Linked DNA regions of Homo sapiens: region 2 is linked to region 1. The links are contacts of gene promoters, found by promoter capture Hi-C in blood cells and fetal thymus (Javierre and others, 2016). All regions are on one chromosome and are shown on one strand. The core of a region is centred on a gene start or on the middle of the fragment in contact, and the rest is flanking DNA. Distances in the headings are between cores, read along the strand shown. Region 1 overlaps GUF1 (GTP binding elongation factor GUF1). Region 2 holds the start of BEND4 (BEN domain containing 4).

Region 1 (3,884 bases), core at 1,085-3,584:
TTTCTATGCCCATATACAGAACAGCTTAACATTACTGGAAAAAAGAAATCAAATAAATGGTCTGGTTCGTTTCTTGTATCTGACAACAAGCTATCTTGCCTATGGGCAGCTGTGCTTCTTATATACTTATCTCCAAATCAAGAAACATCATTTAATGCAATGCAGATTTTAAAATTAAGGTTCTTTATTAATTTTAAAGTATGAAATGGAGGTTTGTAGACAGTGCTCAGTTTAGCAATGAACTGTTATGTTTTATGTATATTGTTTCCTCCTGGATCATAATCTCCTTTTCATATGGATAGTTAATACTGAGCCATAGTAATTTCACATCTGGGCTACCATTAATAGCTGGATTCCCTGTATCTCTTCTTATACCTCTTTGATCCATTCTCTGTAAGGCTACCTGAATGACTGGTTAATTTGTTTCTCTTGCTTTAAAATCCTTCCATTGTCTTAGAATAATTTTCAAGCTCTTCAGCACAGCACGAGTCCCAGCATGACTTGATTCCTGCATACCCCTACAAAGCCTTCTCATCCAATCAACCTTTCTGATCAGTAAACATGCCAAATCTTTTCCTAATTTAAGTCCTTTACACATGCTCTTTTCTCTTCCTGGAATGTTTTTCTGAAAATTATTCATTCCTCCACGTTTCAGTTTATCAGAGACGCTTTTGCTAAGTTATTCCATGTCATAACGTCTCTCTAAGAAAAAAGACTTTTCACTGTTAATGATGGTATTTCACCTAGAATAATAACAATTTGTCGAATGAATTTCCTTGACAATCTCTATCCTAGTCAATAATTCCTATGCTTACTTCTTTGTTTACTTATTTATTGACTGTCTGCAGAAAGGAAGGGGTCTTGTCTGTCTTATTCACTGCCATACTCTTAGCTGGCATATACCAAATAAGAATCTGAATGAATTTTATTAAGATTAAAATCAGAATAGTTAATTGTATTTTAATATAACATAATCCAAAATATAAAACCATATATAACTTGCTCTTTTGAAAATTAAATTAGCTTGAAAGAAAAACATTACATTGCTGTGCTGACATACTTTACACTACCATGTAGTATAGCAGTTTGGCTGTGGCTGTTTAACAAGCAGATCATCATTTCAAAGGTAAATAAAAATTCAAATTTAAAATGGTAGCAACTTTGGTATAAATAAAATCTATTGTTTCCTAGCACTACAACTAGCTTTTTATAAAATAGGTTTTTGTCAGTTCCAAGAATGATACATACAAAAGCCCTGAAATTAGTTTGAACCTGCTCTTCAAAGACAGTATTTCCACTGGGCAAACTGACACACAAGAAATACTGCAGGGAGTTTCAGAAGGCCTGTGTTTTAGTCCTGGCACATTGGCTAACTAAACCTGTGATCTTAGGAAAGTGATAAAACCTTTGAGCCTCAGTTCCTTTAACTACAGCATCGCAATAATTTCTGTATGTCCTAACAATATAAAAAGGGCTTTTGATAAGGATCAAAGGAAATAATAGTAAAAGAAGTTTGTAAAACTATAAAAAACAGCATATAATGCCAGGTTATCAAATACCATGAAATTTCACTTAGCCCAATTACTTGAGACTTTTTTCAAAGTATAATCTTTTTAGGAACGTATTTTACCTTAATACATTCATCACTTGGAATATCAAACACTTTCTCAATTTGGTTTTCAACCCTTTCAGGATCAGCATTCTTCAGATCTATCTTTAAAAAAAAAAATCCATTATGTGAAGTATAATAAAGATAAGATGTATTATGTATTAACAGTATTCGGAGGTAATTAAAAGCTTACCCACTTTAACCTAACTGACCCCTCTACAATATTTTTTCAAAAGCAGTAAAATAATCTATATATTAGCAGTATAATTTAATAACCATGATTGAAAAAGAGAAGTTAAGTAGCAGAGCTTGCAAAAAAAACTTAAGCAGTTAGCTACCCAGGGCAGCAGAAGAGATCAGTAGTAATTTATCAATTAAGCAGCATGTGAACTGATTTTAAAGGTTAAGTTAAATACAACATTAAGTCTGACAACAAGCTGTCTTACCTATGGCCTTCTTTTAAACTTAACTCCATTATCAAGAAATATAATTAAAGCAATGCAGATTTTAAAATTAAGATTCTAAATTAATTTTAAAATATGAAATGGAAGTTTATAGACAGAGCTCAGTTTAGCACTAAATTGTCATGCTTCATGTGTTGTATTGTTTCTTCCTAGATTATAAACTTCTCTTCTTTTCCTATGTATGGTTTAATCTGACAAACATGTTTCATCTGCCCTGCTTCCCTTCCCTACAGAAATGGCCCTCAGCTACCACAAGTTAATTCAGGAGAACTACCTTCTCAATTCTGTGCAAGGGTGAGTTTCAGTTGCACTTCTGTTATATACAATTCAAAGAGATAAATCCCACCAATATATTTAATAAATAGCTGGTGATCCCTCATATAATGAATAGTACAACTGACATTTAAACATTAATTGTACTTTTAGAAAGTGAAATAGCAACACTGTTGTCTCATTGTAATTACCTTATTTATAACTGGAATTACCGATAGCTGTGCTTCGAAGGCAAGAAAGAAGTTTGCTACAGTTTGGGCTTGAATTCCCTGAAAATATCAAGATACAAGATACTGAGATGACCATTCTATTATATATCACAAAACTTGTAATTTAAGACCATTCTATACATCTTCATCAAGAGATTTTGCGTTATGCTAATAATAAAATTAAACAAAATGCCATGTAGCTACCCTTCATGCTTTTCTCTCCAACTTATGTCTTTGGGGTCAATATGAAAATCGCTGATGGTAAAGCAATAATCACATCAAGTAGAGTGAGCCAACAGACAGTCTACTAAGCTTGAGATAGGAAGCCTTTAAGGAAAGGTACACGGCAGCTCAACTATGATACCTATTTTTCCATGCATCTGAATCATCCTCTGTAATAATTCCTTTCAGTTCAGAAAGCATTTATTGGAGGGCCTTTTCTGTGCCAGAAACTACATCAGGCATTGGAGAAACAAAAGATGTAACATGGACTCTCAAGGACCTCAAAGCTTATTAGAGAACACAGTCATCAAGGTAGTTTATAAAGGCCAGTACTGCCTACATAAGGTAGAGATTGACTTTCCTTGATGGGATCAGGAAAGGCTTAACGGCTTAACACAACACGGTCACCACCACCACTAAAAAAAAGTTGGGTTTTGAATGAAGAGTTTGTGAGAAACATGTAACAAAAGTTTATATTCACAGCTCTTACATGGTCATCTGCTGAGTGTCTTTACGGCTTACACAACAAAAGAGCTTAGTAATGTTACTGATTTTTTAAAAACCTAATACTTCCAAATTATTGCCTTAAAATCACCTAAAATGATCTGAAAACTAATGATTTATTCTTAAGATCTGCTAAAAATGGATATAGAAACCTCAGATTAAGAACTGCTAAAGTTGGTGGGGTTTTTTTGGTAAGATGCATTGACAATATGATGTCACACTTCAAAAAAATACAACAATCTTTTGAACAATTCCAATTTAAAAACTAGTCAATTCCAGAGAATGCTTTATTGTAATAATATTTCAGATTAACAGGATGAAACCATATGATTTTCAGTAAGTAACAGATTAAATCTATTTTTCAAACACAAAAATTCTATTTCCAAAACACATTTTAAAGAAAAACTCTTGAAACAACCAAATAGTCATGTCATATCACATCATACAAAATGAAAAATACCTACCTCATTTGCATCAACCACAAGTAAAACACCCTGGCAAGCAGAAAGTGACCTGGATACTTCATAACTAAAATCAACATGGCCCTGAGAAACAAAAATATTGATACCTGTAAATGTGAGTTAATTTTTTAGGAAAGAGCAT
Region 2 (3,443 bases), core at 642-3,141, 2.5 Mb after region 1:
AGAAATAATCACTTTTTGATGTAAAGGACAGCATGTCCTTTTCAATAGAAAATATACAATAGAAGTATTGTTCCCAGTCTCTTAAGGTGTTTAAGTGGTGAGGAGGATATACATTTAAAACTACATAGAAGAGGAAGCCCCCAGGTACAGGAAATTACTTCTTCAGAAGAACTAAAAGATTTCTCTCCTCTTAACTCCCCACACTGCCACCACCCCAATTTCTTTTCAAAAGCCAGGACTTATTGGCAAATTATCTGGGAGTAAAGTGGGAGGAAAACATTTCAATGCAAAATTCAGAACTGCTTTATAGAAAGGAAAGTGTGGGGAGGTTTGTTATCATTTATTTCCTCCAGTATATCATTCAATTTCAGCTGTCTCACGTCTCAGAAGTAGCTCCCCCATTTCTCACTTACGTGCCTAAGAAACATCTCCCTGGCATCTCATTCTCTTTCTCTTTCACCAGCATTTCATTATTTCTTAACTGTCCCTCTCATGCTTGTCTCCTTTTCCTAGTGATCCACGTGTCCTCATTTAGCAGTTTTCAGAAGCCAGGGAGAAACATTGCAAATAATGTTAAATATGATTAATATCTTGAATTCCTTGAAATATGACATGCATGAGTTACAATGAAACCTCTTTTATTTCCCCATGAAATGCTTTTGCATAATGAGAAAGAAAATGTCCTCTATGCCCTAATCAGCCCTGACAGTTCCTGGACTCCCAAATACTTATATTTATGGCATTATTTATTTCATCTCTAATAAATGGATTGGGGGGGGGACACAGCACCATCTGAGGAAGCTGCAGGAGAGAGGGAGACAATCTAGGGGGGAATAATACAGAAGCTGAACCAGCAAGGCAGAGAGAAAAAGCTTCCAAAGGGAAGGAGACCAGGGAAAGAGAGGCCAAAAGATGTGAACCCCCAGAAGAAAATGGGTCACCTTCCTAAGAATAAAAGGAAGGCTCTGAAAAGGAAACAAACTTCAGAGTGCAGAGATGAGGGTCCTACATCAAGGAGCATCCAGAACTCTGACCTGGAGAACGAAAAAGGAAGGCTGAAAAGCAAACCTGGGGCAGGGTATGCTGGTTGGCCTAGAAGAGGGGTGATTTGGGATAGGGAGCAATGGACCCTCTGCCCCAAAAAGTGGCTGGGAGAGACCAGGACATCTGCATCCCATGGAGGATCTTCCTCCCAACGACTGAGATCTCTCATTCAAACGGCTACTGAAATTGGGCACCCTCCAGACCCTCGCCGGATGGCGCCAGTTGCAGTGAGTAAAACAATGCAAGGAGTGAGTTCTCGTGTTTCCCTGGGCTTGCAAGTACATATACATATATTAAAAATGACACTGTTGAAAGTAATCATCACCTCAAAGGGAGGTATCAGGACATTTCCCCACTCAATTGCACAGAGGCTACTGGCTATGGGAAGTGAGGAGTTGACTTCAAATAACCTGGATGCGTCAGTGCAACACAGCCGCACACTCCCGAGTGTCTGACTTTGGGCAATTCCCTTCAACCTCTCAGAGCCTCGGTTTTCTCATCTTTATAATGGGGGGGAAATCATGGTGTCATGCACGTTCTCGGGGCCCCTACGGGAAACAAATGAAAACGTGAAAAAGTTCTACGCCTTGCGAGCTTTTATGTTCCGCATGAGCTCAGAGGCCGCGATGCTCGGGGAAAGCAGGACCCCAAAGCCCCGTAAACACCGCGCGACCACCCGGGCCAAGATCTTCAAGAGGTTCTTTTCAGAAGGATCGGAGAGCAATTCCCGATTGGTAGAAGAACTTGCTGTAATACACACGTACTCTGACGACCCCGCCCCAACGACTAGCCCCTCCTCTGTGCAACCCCGAGAGTTTGGGGTCATGCAGGGGGCGCCACGAGCTCGTTTCGGAAGCCGGACCCCGCCCGCAGCCGCAGAAGCCTCGAGTCCACATCTGGGTCTCTAAAGTCTCGCCGTAGCCAGATCCCGGATCCCCACCTTCTTCACCAGTTCCCGGGCGTCCTCCAGGTCCTCGCTTTCCCCCTTCCCCCGCTCCCCGTCGGAGGCGCGGAGCCGCCAGGCAGACCCCGCGGGCGGCTGCGGCGCCAGGCCCCGCCCCGCCCCCATTATCATTAGCAGATATTACCCTAAACACTTGCTCTTTACCTCCTTTCTCCCTCCAGGCATTGGCGAGGCAGCCTGTCAATCAGGAGCTCGGGCGGCAGCCCCCCGCGCGGGGGCTCGGCGATGCCAGCCTCAGCGACAGGCGGCGGCGGCGGCGGCCACGGCACAGACACACACCCTCCCACACGCGCGCACCAGGGCAGACCCGGCGGGCAGGCGGCGGAGGCACCCTCGGAGCCCGGCGCCCGGCGGGGAGGGGACGTGCTCCGAGGGACCGGCCCCGAGGCGCCGGATGGAGGAAGAGATGCAGCCGGCAGAGGAGGGGCCCAGCGTCCCCAAAATCTACAAGCAGCGCAGCCCCTACAGCGTCCTCAAGACGTTCCCCAGCAAGAGACCGGCGCTGGCCAAGCGCTACGAGCGACCCACCCTGGTGGAGCTGCCGCACGTGCGGGCGCCCCCGCCGCCCCCGCCGCCCTTCGCGCCGCACGCCGCCGTCTCCATCAGCAGCAGCGAGCCGCCGCCGCAGCAGTTCCAGGCGCAGAGCTCCTACCCCCCCGGGCCCGGCCGGGCCGCCGCCGCCGCTTCGTCGTCGTCGCCGTCCTGCACGCCCGCCACATCCCAGGGCCACTTGAGGACTCCGGCGCAGCCGCCGCCCGCGTCCCCCGCCGCCTCCTCGTCGTCTTCGTTCGCCGCTGTCGTCAGGTATGGCCCAGGCGCGGCGGCGGCCGCCGGCACCGGCGGCACGGGTAGCGACAGCGCCAGCCTGGAGCTCAGCGCAGGTACCAACTCTCCGCACAACTTTCCTTCCCGCCACGGCCGGGGGCAGCGGGAGGGGACCCAGGAAGGAGAAGCGGGGGGCCGCCGACACTTACCCGTGCTGGGCCGTGTCGGGATGTCGGGGCGCACCTGGGGCCTCCCCGCGCACCCGGAAACTTCGAGAGGATTCTCCAGCGCCGCCGCGCCTGGGCTTCCGACGGCGCGCGCCTAACAGGTGGCTCCGCGGCTTGGATCCCGCGCCGGGAAGCACGGCTGTGGCAGTCGGCGACCAGGATCGCTCGGGCGTGGTCCGGAGTGGGGCCAGACGCCCCCCCGGGGGATAGCGGCGGCCGCTCGGGAAGAAGCTGGAGCTTCTCGGGCCGCCCCGCTGGGACGCCCTCGTACTACTTCACTTTTTCCGTCTGCTTTTTCCCTTTCTCCTTCTTCCTCCATTTGTTTCTTCTTCTCTCCACTTCTCCTTTGCCTTCTAGTGCTTTCTTCGCCACCTCTTTGATGCACTCTCACGCTGTCGCAGTCCATGCTGGCTGGCTCTCAGTTCCGTTTTTCCTTCTGTCTT

The links. Contacts are between HindIII fragments. The CHiCAGO score rates a contact against its expected background, and 5 or more counts as called.
Region 2: the fragment with the promoter of BEND4 here is called in contact with a fragment that was not itself captured in region 1 in 1 of 17 cell types (total B cells); the score reaches 8.6 in total B cells.

What each region holds. Positions count from the first base shown.
Region 1 is chr4:44,681,065-44,684,948 of GRCh38, reverse strand. It overlaps GUF1 (GTP binding elongation factor GUF1), which reads right to left. Exons shown (of 17, transcript NM_021927.3): 4 at 3,746-3,826; 5 at 2,538-2,615; 6 at 1,631-1,714. Among named protein-coding and RNA genes, the nearest start is that of GUF1, 4.6 kb to the right of the region's middle. The HindIII fragment of the contact is 1,070 bases long and covers 1,800-2,869 here.
Region 2 is chr4:42,151,103-42,154,545 of GRCh38, reverse strand. It overlaps BEND4 (BEN domain containing 4), which reads left to right and starts at 1,891. Exons shown (of 6, transcript NM_207406.4): 1 at 1,891-2,014; 2 at 2,170-2,889. The coding sequence starts at 2,403. RefSeq lists silencers at 2,199-2,518, 2,719-2,808 and an enhancer at 2,574-3,417. The HindIII fragment of the contact is 4,164 bases long and covers 875-3,443 here.